2 separate regions of the Homo sapiens genome follow, and region 2 is linked to region 1. The links are contacts of gene promoters, found by promoter capture Hi-C in blood cells and fetal thymus (Javierre and others, 2016). All regions are on one chromosome and are shown on one strand. Each heading gives the region's core, a stretch centred on a gene start or on the middle of the fragment in contact. The rest is flanking DNA. Distances are from core to core; before and after follow the strand shown.

Region 1 (3,979 bases), core at 478-2,977:
ATTTATCAGTGAAAGTAATACCAAGTAATGTTACACTTTAGCCCTAAAATTTACCGGCAACTGACTACCAGTTCCTGAAACCTTTCCAAAGTACAAAGAATACTGTCCATAACCACTGCTTAGCATTACTAAAATAGGTCAAGAGAAGTGTGAAAATGTGGGAAAGATTTTGCCCTGGTAAAACTTGGTCACAGCAAGAATGCTGAGTAGCACGGTTAAAGCCGTGAGGCGGACAAAGGCTTGTCCAGTGCCTGGCTCTGATGTTTTGGGCATTAAGTTCCCCCAAGAGGGTGCAGAAATCCTGTGTCCATTCTGGGGTGTGAGTTCCTTCTGGATCATTCAGCCAGAGGAGAATCTTTATTGGCTTTAAATAAATTCAGATCTATTAACAATCCATTAACAAATTTGTATCCATTAACAAATTGGATAAAATGATCAAAAAAGAGAGGCAGATAGTAACCTTGACAATCTCTTCCTGGATCCAGCGTTCATCTTCTGAGGAGTGGTGGAGGTGGCTGAGACCAACCACGCACCACCACCCCTTCTCCCACTTCGATTACAGAGGCTTTGAGGTAAAGCTCGCACAAGGGCTCAAGGCAAGGCCTGGTCTTCTGCCACCCCAGTGCCCAGCTCCTCACTCTGGGCTTGGCCCAAACTCCGTGGATGTTCTGTAAACACCTGCTGGAAGAAGAGGAGTGCGGGAGGAAGCGGGGAAAGGGATGTGTGGGGTGGGGGGATCACGGTTCTGTGAGGGAGGCTGCTAAGCAGAAAAGCAACAAAACCGGCCACAAGAGAACGGTGCTGCTGTGAACAGAGGGCTGTGAGGGAGGGCGGGGGGCGTGACCTTGGCGCTCATCTTGTAAACTCGGAGACATTCCTTGGGAAAAGATATTTCCCTAAACTACATCGATCTTGGGGCCGGACCCTTTCATCGTCCCACAACAATCACCACCGGGTCTACGTCCTTTAAAAACACCTGAGCGGCGGACCCGGTGGCTCATGCCTGTAATCCCGGCACTTTGGGAAGCCGAGGCGGGCGGATTGCTTGAAACCAGGAGTTCAAGACCACCTTGGGCAACATAGGGAGACCCCGTCTCTACAAATAGTAATAGTAATAATAATAATAATAATAATAATAATAATAATAATAATAAATTAAATTAGCCAGCGTGGTGTCGTGTGCCTACAGTCAGTCCCAGCTACTCGGGAGGCTGAGGCGGGAGGATCTCCTGAGCCCACGAGTTCCAGGCTGCAGTGAGCTGTGGTCGCGCCATTGCACTCCAGCCTAGGCGACAGAGCCAGCCCCCTTGTCTGTATAAAAACAGAGAAAGAAAAGAGAAGAAAGAAGGAAAGGAAGGAAGAAAAAGAAAGGGAAAGACCACTGGAAGTGGAGGCCAGGCGTGCCTGAAGCCTTGGCAATCAACAGCCAGCGCACACTCGCAGCCTCGGTCTCTGGGCGGGCCTCTCCACCCCTTTCCTCCACGGGGCCTATGGGGCTGCGGGGAGGAAGGGGCGCACCCATCGTCGACCCCTACAGGGCGCGCAGTGGGTGATTGCGGCACTGGCTCGCGTTCCCGCCCGAGGGAGACGAGGCGGGACAGCGGGCGGGAAAGGGAGCCTGCGCCGCAATCTTTCCCGCCCGAAAGACCCGCCCCGCGGTGGGCCCCAGTCCCCGCCCGGTCCGCGGCGCTGCCGGCCCCTCCTCGCCGCCGCGGAGCTGGACCGCAGTTGTGCCCCGCCGACCATGCGCCGCCTCCCGCGGGCCCTGCTGCTGCAGCTGCGCCTCGCCCTGCTGGTGGCCGCGGGGGCCCCGGAGGTGCTGGTCAGCGCGCCGCGGAGCCTGGTGTGGGGGCCCGGGCTGCAGGCGGCCGTCGTCCTGCCGGTCCGCTATTTCTACCTGCAGGCGGTCAACTCGGAGGGCCAGAACCTCACTCGCTCTCCCGCAGGTAGTGTCCAGCCGCCGGCCTCCCTCGTCCCGCGGCCGGGTCCCCGCGCGTCCCCGCCGCCCGGGAGTCCGCCCGCGGCCTGCGTGGCGTCCCTCCCCGGCGTGTGTCGCCCCTTTTTGGGTCTGGTCAGCTCCTCTTCCCTCCTCCCGCCCATACTCAAAGCGGGCAAAAATCACCACGAAAGTTTGTGGAATGAATGAATGAATGAACTTGAAGGGCCCTTCCGCATTTAATGTGCAGGGACTGATGTTGCGAATGGACGGCGCCCGGGCGTTACAAGGAGTGTGCCGTGAGTCACACGTTGCCTTCCATCTCGGACTTAGTTGTCTGAACTGTGAGGGATTGCAGGGAGCGCTTTCCAGTGGTGAGTCATCAAGCCGACGGATCGCGTCGGATTACATGGCTTAGGCCTGGTGGGTTTGGAGCAACGAAATCCTACGCAGAGGAAATGTCAGAGCCGTAGGAAGGAGGAGGGGTTTACGTGTTAGTTTTTTGTTTCCTTTTTAGTTCTGAGTTTTTGAAAGCAGATTACAGGAACTAGGGAAACTCAGTAGAAATCATTCGGTTTTCCCTCCACGGAGGGTGAGATGGATCTCGTCCTGAATCCCTTTCTGCCCGGTCCTCCTCCCACGTTGTCCTTCACGTCTTAACCTTTGCAACTTCTTAAAACTTGTCCTGCTGGTTTCACGCTGTTGTCAGTCAGGATTTGCTAATGTATAATTTGGGGCTCTGGCCAACTAGCACCTTGTTGTATCAGCGAAGAGACAATTAGAATAAACCAGTGCCTCTGCCCCTGCTAGTCCAGCTGGGAACATAGCTGCCAGAAGTGTGTCCCAACTTGGGAAAGGGGTAAGGGGGTCTTGACAGCTGGGCAAAGCAGAGAATTTAGGAACCAAACATAATTCACTTTTAGATTTAATGATTTTTAAAATTTCATTCATTCAAGAAATACTTCTTTGATGTCTACTTCTGTGTTTGGTAATTCTGCTGGGAATCTAAGGATGAAAAGACAATGCCTGACCATCAAGGAACTTACAGTCTGTTGGTCAAAGACATGCAAATAACTGATCACTGTACAAGATAATTGAAGGTATGTACAGAGTGCAGTGGCAACATTGAAGCACTGCCAGAGACTGGAGAAATCCAGGAAGATTTCAGGAGCAGAGACTTGAAGGATGAGAAGGTTTGCTGGGCAGGCATATAGAAGGACGCCATGGCATGTGCAGAAGCACAGAGGCGTAGGAGACCGTGGTGTTCGGGAAAATAAGTACTGTAATTTAATGATACTGAGCGGAAAAGCCTGGTTGATTGTAGCCTCTGGTCTTCAAGCGCCTTGAATGCCAAGCAAATGACTTTATAACTAGATAAAAGAGAGCCACTGGAGAAATTTGAGCTGAGGCAAGAATCTGCCTCTCCCTTAACTACCTCAGTGGCTTGTTTTCTACATTTGATTCAGAACACCACTCCTGAAGTTGTCTTTGGGCATTGCTTTGATAACGTGTCTACCAGTTAGACCCTAAATACTCAGACAACTGGTTTCATATGCATGATATGCATTTAGGTAAAATAATTCCGACTCTATTGACAGAAACGCATGTGTGTATATCAGGGTTTCACAAACTTTTTCTTTAAAGGGCCAGATAGTAAATAATTTAGGCTTTGTAGGTGATATCATCTCTCACATTTATTCAGCTGTGCTTTGTAGCCATGGACATATAACAAACCCGTTTATGTTACAATAAAACTTTTTATGGCCACTGAAATTTCAATTTCATATAGTTTTCCATAAGTCACAGAATATTATTATTTTGATTTTTCTCCAACCCCCCTCCTCCTTTTTTTTTTTTAAGAGACAAGGTCTTTGTCACCCAGGATGCAGTGCAGTGGTACAGTCATAGCTACTGCAGCCTCAAATTCCTGGCCTCAAGGGATCCTCTTGCCTCAGTCTCCCCAAATGCTGGGATTACAGGCATAATCCACCATGCCCATCCCCATTTTAAAAATATAAGAATCATTGTTAGCTTACAGGATTT
Region 2 (3,397 bases), core at 264-2,763, 930 kb after region 1:
GGAGGATCACTTGAGGCCAGGAGTTCGGGACCAGCCTGGCCAACACGGTGAAACCCCGTCTCTACTAAAAATACAAAAATTAGCCAGGCGTGGTGGCAGGCACCTGTAATCACAACTACTCAGGAGGCCGAGGCAGGAGAATTGCTTGAACCTGGGAAGCTGAGGTTGCAGTGAACCAAGATTGCGCCACTGCACTCCAGCCTGGGTGACAGAGCAAGACTCTTGTCTCAAAAAATAAAATAAAAAATAAAATAAAATAAAAGCTAGCTCTTTTACTCATGCGATAACAGACATGGATGTAAATCACTCTTTAAAATATTTTATATTTAAATCCCAGCACTTTGGGGGGCCAAAGCAGGCGGATCATGAAGTCAGAAGATCAAGACCATCCTGGCCAATATGGTGAAACCCATCTCTACTAAAAATTACAAAAAAATTAGTTGGGCATGGTGGCGCATGCCTGTAGTCCCAGCTACTTGGGAGGCTGAGGCAGGAGAATCACTTGAACCCAGGAGGCAGAGGTTGCAGTGAGCCGAGACTGCATCACTGCACTCCAGCCTGGCAACAAAGCAAGACTCCATCTCAAAAAAATACAAAAATAAAAATAAAAAAATTTATATTTAAACAGCTCATACATTTTGTCTTTAAGTCTCAGTTGTTACATTTGTAAAATGGGATATAAGAGATGCCAAAAAGAGTTGTTTTTATTTTTTATTAAAAATTTTTTAAAAACTTTTGTCAAATTATAAAACATAATCTATTATTCTTTAATAATTTAATAATCTGAAATTTGAATCATCTGCTTCTTGGTCCTTGCACCTTATAAAATTAAAATACTTCCCTTGAAATGAGAATTCCAAATATACTAGAAATCTGGCAGCTTCTCACTCTGGGGATGATTTTTAAAGAGGTCTATGTTGACAAATAACATACAATCTTTTTCCTCAGTGGTTGAACACTTGCAAAAGTAGCAAAATTGCTTGTTAAACATGCAGGTTACTGGGCCCTGGCCCCAGAGATTTTGGAGCACACACTGTAACCAACTGGTGTTCAGAGAATTAAAATTTATATGTGCTTTAAGTTGACTCGTTATGTCTAGTGGGGTTGGAGACCACTTAACCAAGCACTTCAGTGATTCTGATGCAAGTAGTCTAAGAACCAGCCTTTGAGGAACATGCCCTAGTGCAGTGGCCTCTAAAGTGAAGTGTGTATGGCTTGTGGGATTTAGAAGAATATTCTAGAAATTCCATTTATATGTTTATCTAAAACAAATTAATCTCTATTCACATTTAATATCCTGGAAGCTTCATTAGGTGTGAATGTCTGATGTTACATGTCACAGACTTTATGAGAGGTGCTCTAGAAGAGGAGAGGAGTGAGAGCTCACAGGCAGGACAGCTGCCTCTGGCATCCTCCCTCTTTTGATTTAAGCGAGACATTATTTTTTTGTGGTGCCTGATAAATGGATTTTTGGATTATGTAATCCAAAAACTATTTTTTGCAAAATGGACAAGTGGGTTAGAAAACTCTGAATTCCCTACAGTGAAGATGAATATAGACAATAATTCAAGCACAAATAACCAACAGAAAATAGCAAAATTAATGCTCCTAGTATGAGCTCTCAGTCCCAACCTAACAGCTGAGACTATCTAATCAGATCTGACAAGAAGTCTACTCCCCAAACTAGAAGCGATCACAAATATAGTTAATAATGAAGCTTGCCCTCTCTGGGCAAATATCTTTGTGTCTTTGAGAAATTAATGATAGAATGAAGCCATCAATGTGGCAAGACATTTTTAAATGAAATGTTTATACATTTTTAAAATATACTTTTTTCTTCTACATTTAAGGGAAACATTTTTAAAAGATTTTGTTTTATTTTATCATAACCTTTTAAAATCCACAAATCCCACACCTCTAGCCACCCCAAAGATTTTCCTGCACCCTGAGTTGCCTGCTAGTTCTTTATTCTCATCTATTTAAAAAATCTGTGTAGAAAAGAAAATTATTCTGCAAAGTAAGCAGGCCTTTAGCCTCAAGAATAAATAGACCATTTGGGGGAGGTTAATGCTTCGTAGCTAAAATTGTATGCTTTGCAAATGACCAAAAAAAAAAAATAATAATAATAAATGAATTCTCCAAGCTGAGTTTTATGTTTTGTATTATAAATTAAAGGCTGACCCTTTTCCTTCTCCTCTGTTTTTTTTCTTGGTTACCTTTTGCCTCTAATTACTGTACAGGGAATACTTTCACCATATGACTTATAAAACTGCAAACTTTTCATTGAATTTTTATCACCATAGCGTGAATAATGTATTCAGTCCTGAAATGTCACAGTGAACATCAAATGGTTTTACATAATGCATTCTTGCTGAAGTTTCAAGAAGCCAGCAACCAGGGAAGCAGCAGAGAAGACACAACTTTGGAAAGAAAACTTGATACAAATTTGTCATTTTTCCAGGAGGAATAAAATAAGTAGCAGAAGAGTAAATGAGAGGAAAGACTGAGAAATAAAACTTTTTTTTTTTAAACCATAAATAGAAAAACAAGCAAAACTAGTACAGTTGCCACAGGGGACAACTGGAAGAAAAACTAGAAAGTAGCCAGAAACAGATGGTGGGGAAAGGGGCTGTAGGGAGAAGGGCGAGGTTAGAAACCTCATAACCATAGGAATTGAGTTTGAAACTGCAGTCAAACAGTTTCATAGTTTGGAACTACAGTAAAAATGTAACAATTTTCAAGGACTATTGGGGCCATTTTCAATTTTTTTCTGATTGAAGACTCTTGAACTAGAATACAATAGCTGTAAGAATTCTAGTTTTGGATGCTTTATTAGCTGATGAGAGTGCTCATTACTCTGTCGTCCAGGCTGGAGTTCAGTGGTGCAATCATAGCTCACTGTCACCTTGAATTCTTGGGCTCAAGTGATCCTCCCATGTTAGCCTCTTGAGTAGCTAGGACTATAGGTGCATGCCACCATGTCTGGCTAATTGAAGAGTGGCCATTCTTTTAGCATCCTTTTCTCATAGGTTTGGGGAGAGCTCGTAATGTGACAATCTGGCCAAAAATAAGTGCTCCATCCCTTATGGGACACACTGTTAGTGGTCTACCCAATGATTGTCTCCCCTTTTTCTTGCTAATAGAAACCTATTCCCCTCATTCCCTGCCCATAGTCTGTCAAGGTCTCTTGATCTCAGGGAGGACACACTTCATCCAAGCCCCACAGAGTGAATCATGATTGGCCTTATAGCAGTCATGGTAATTCTACTTCCCTTAGCTACTGTTTGATATGGGGGTGAGAGTGTGTAATAGTTTTCTATTGCTGCTGTAACAAATTACCACAAGTTTAGCAGTTCACAGCAACGCAAATTTATTATATCACAGTTCTGTAGGTTGT

The links. Contacts are between HindIII fragments. The CHiCAGO score rates a contact against its expected background, and 5 or more counts as called.
Region 2: a fragment that was not itself captured here is called in contact with the fragment with the promoter of POGLUT3 in region 1 in 1 of 17 cell types (total CD4 T cells); the score reaches 6.0 in total CD4 T cells.

What each region holds. Positions count from the first base shown.
Region 1 is chr11:108,496,132-108,500,110 of GRCh38, reverse strand. It overlaps POGLUT3 (protein O-glucosyltransferase 3), which reads left to right and starts at 1,727. Exons shown (of 8, transcript NM_153705.5): 1 at 1,727-1,946. The coding sequence starts at 1,745. LOC112267909 (a long non-coding RNA gene) reads right to left here and starts at 1,050. Exons shown (of 3, transcript XR_007062880.1): 1 at 461-1,050. RefSeq lists a silencer at 1,575-2,094. The HindIII fragment of the contact is 8,220 bases long and covers 1-3,979 here.
Region 2 is chr11:107,571,372-107,574,768 of GRCh38, reverse strand. No RefSeq gene overlaps it. Among named protein-coding and RNA genes, the nearest start is that of ALKBH8, 7.3 kb to the right of the region's middle. The HindIII fragment of the contact is 413 bases long and covers 1,307-1,719 here.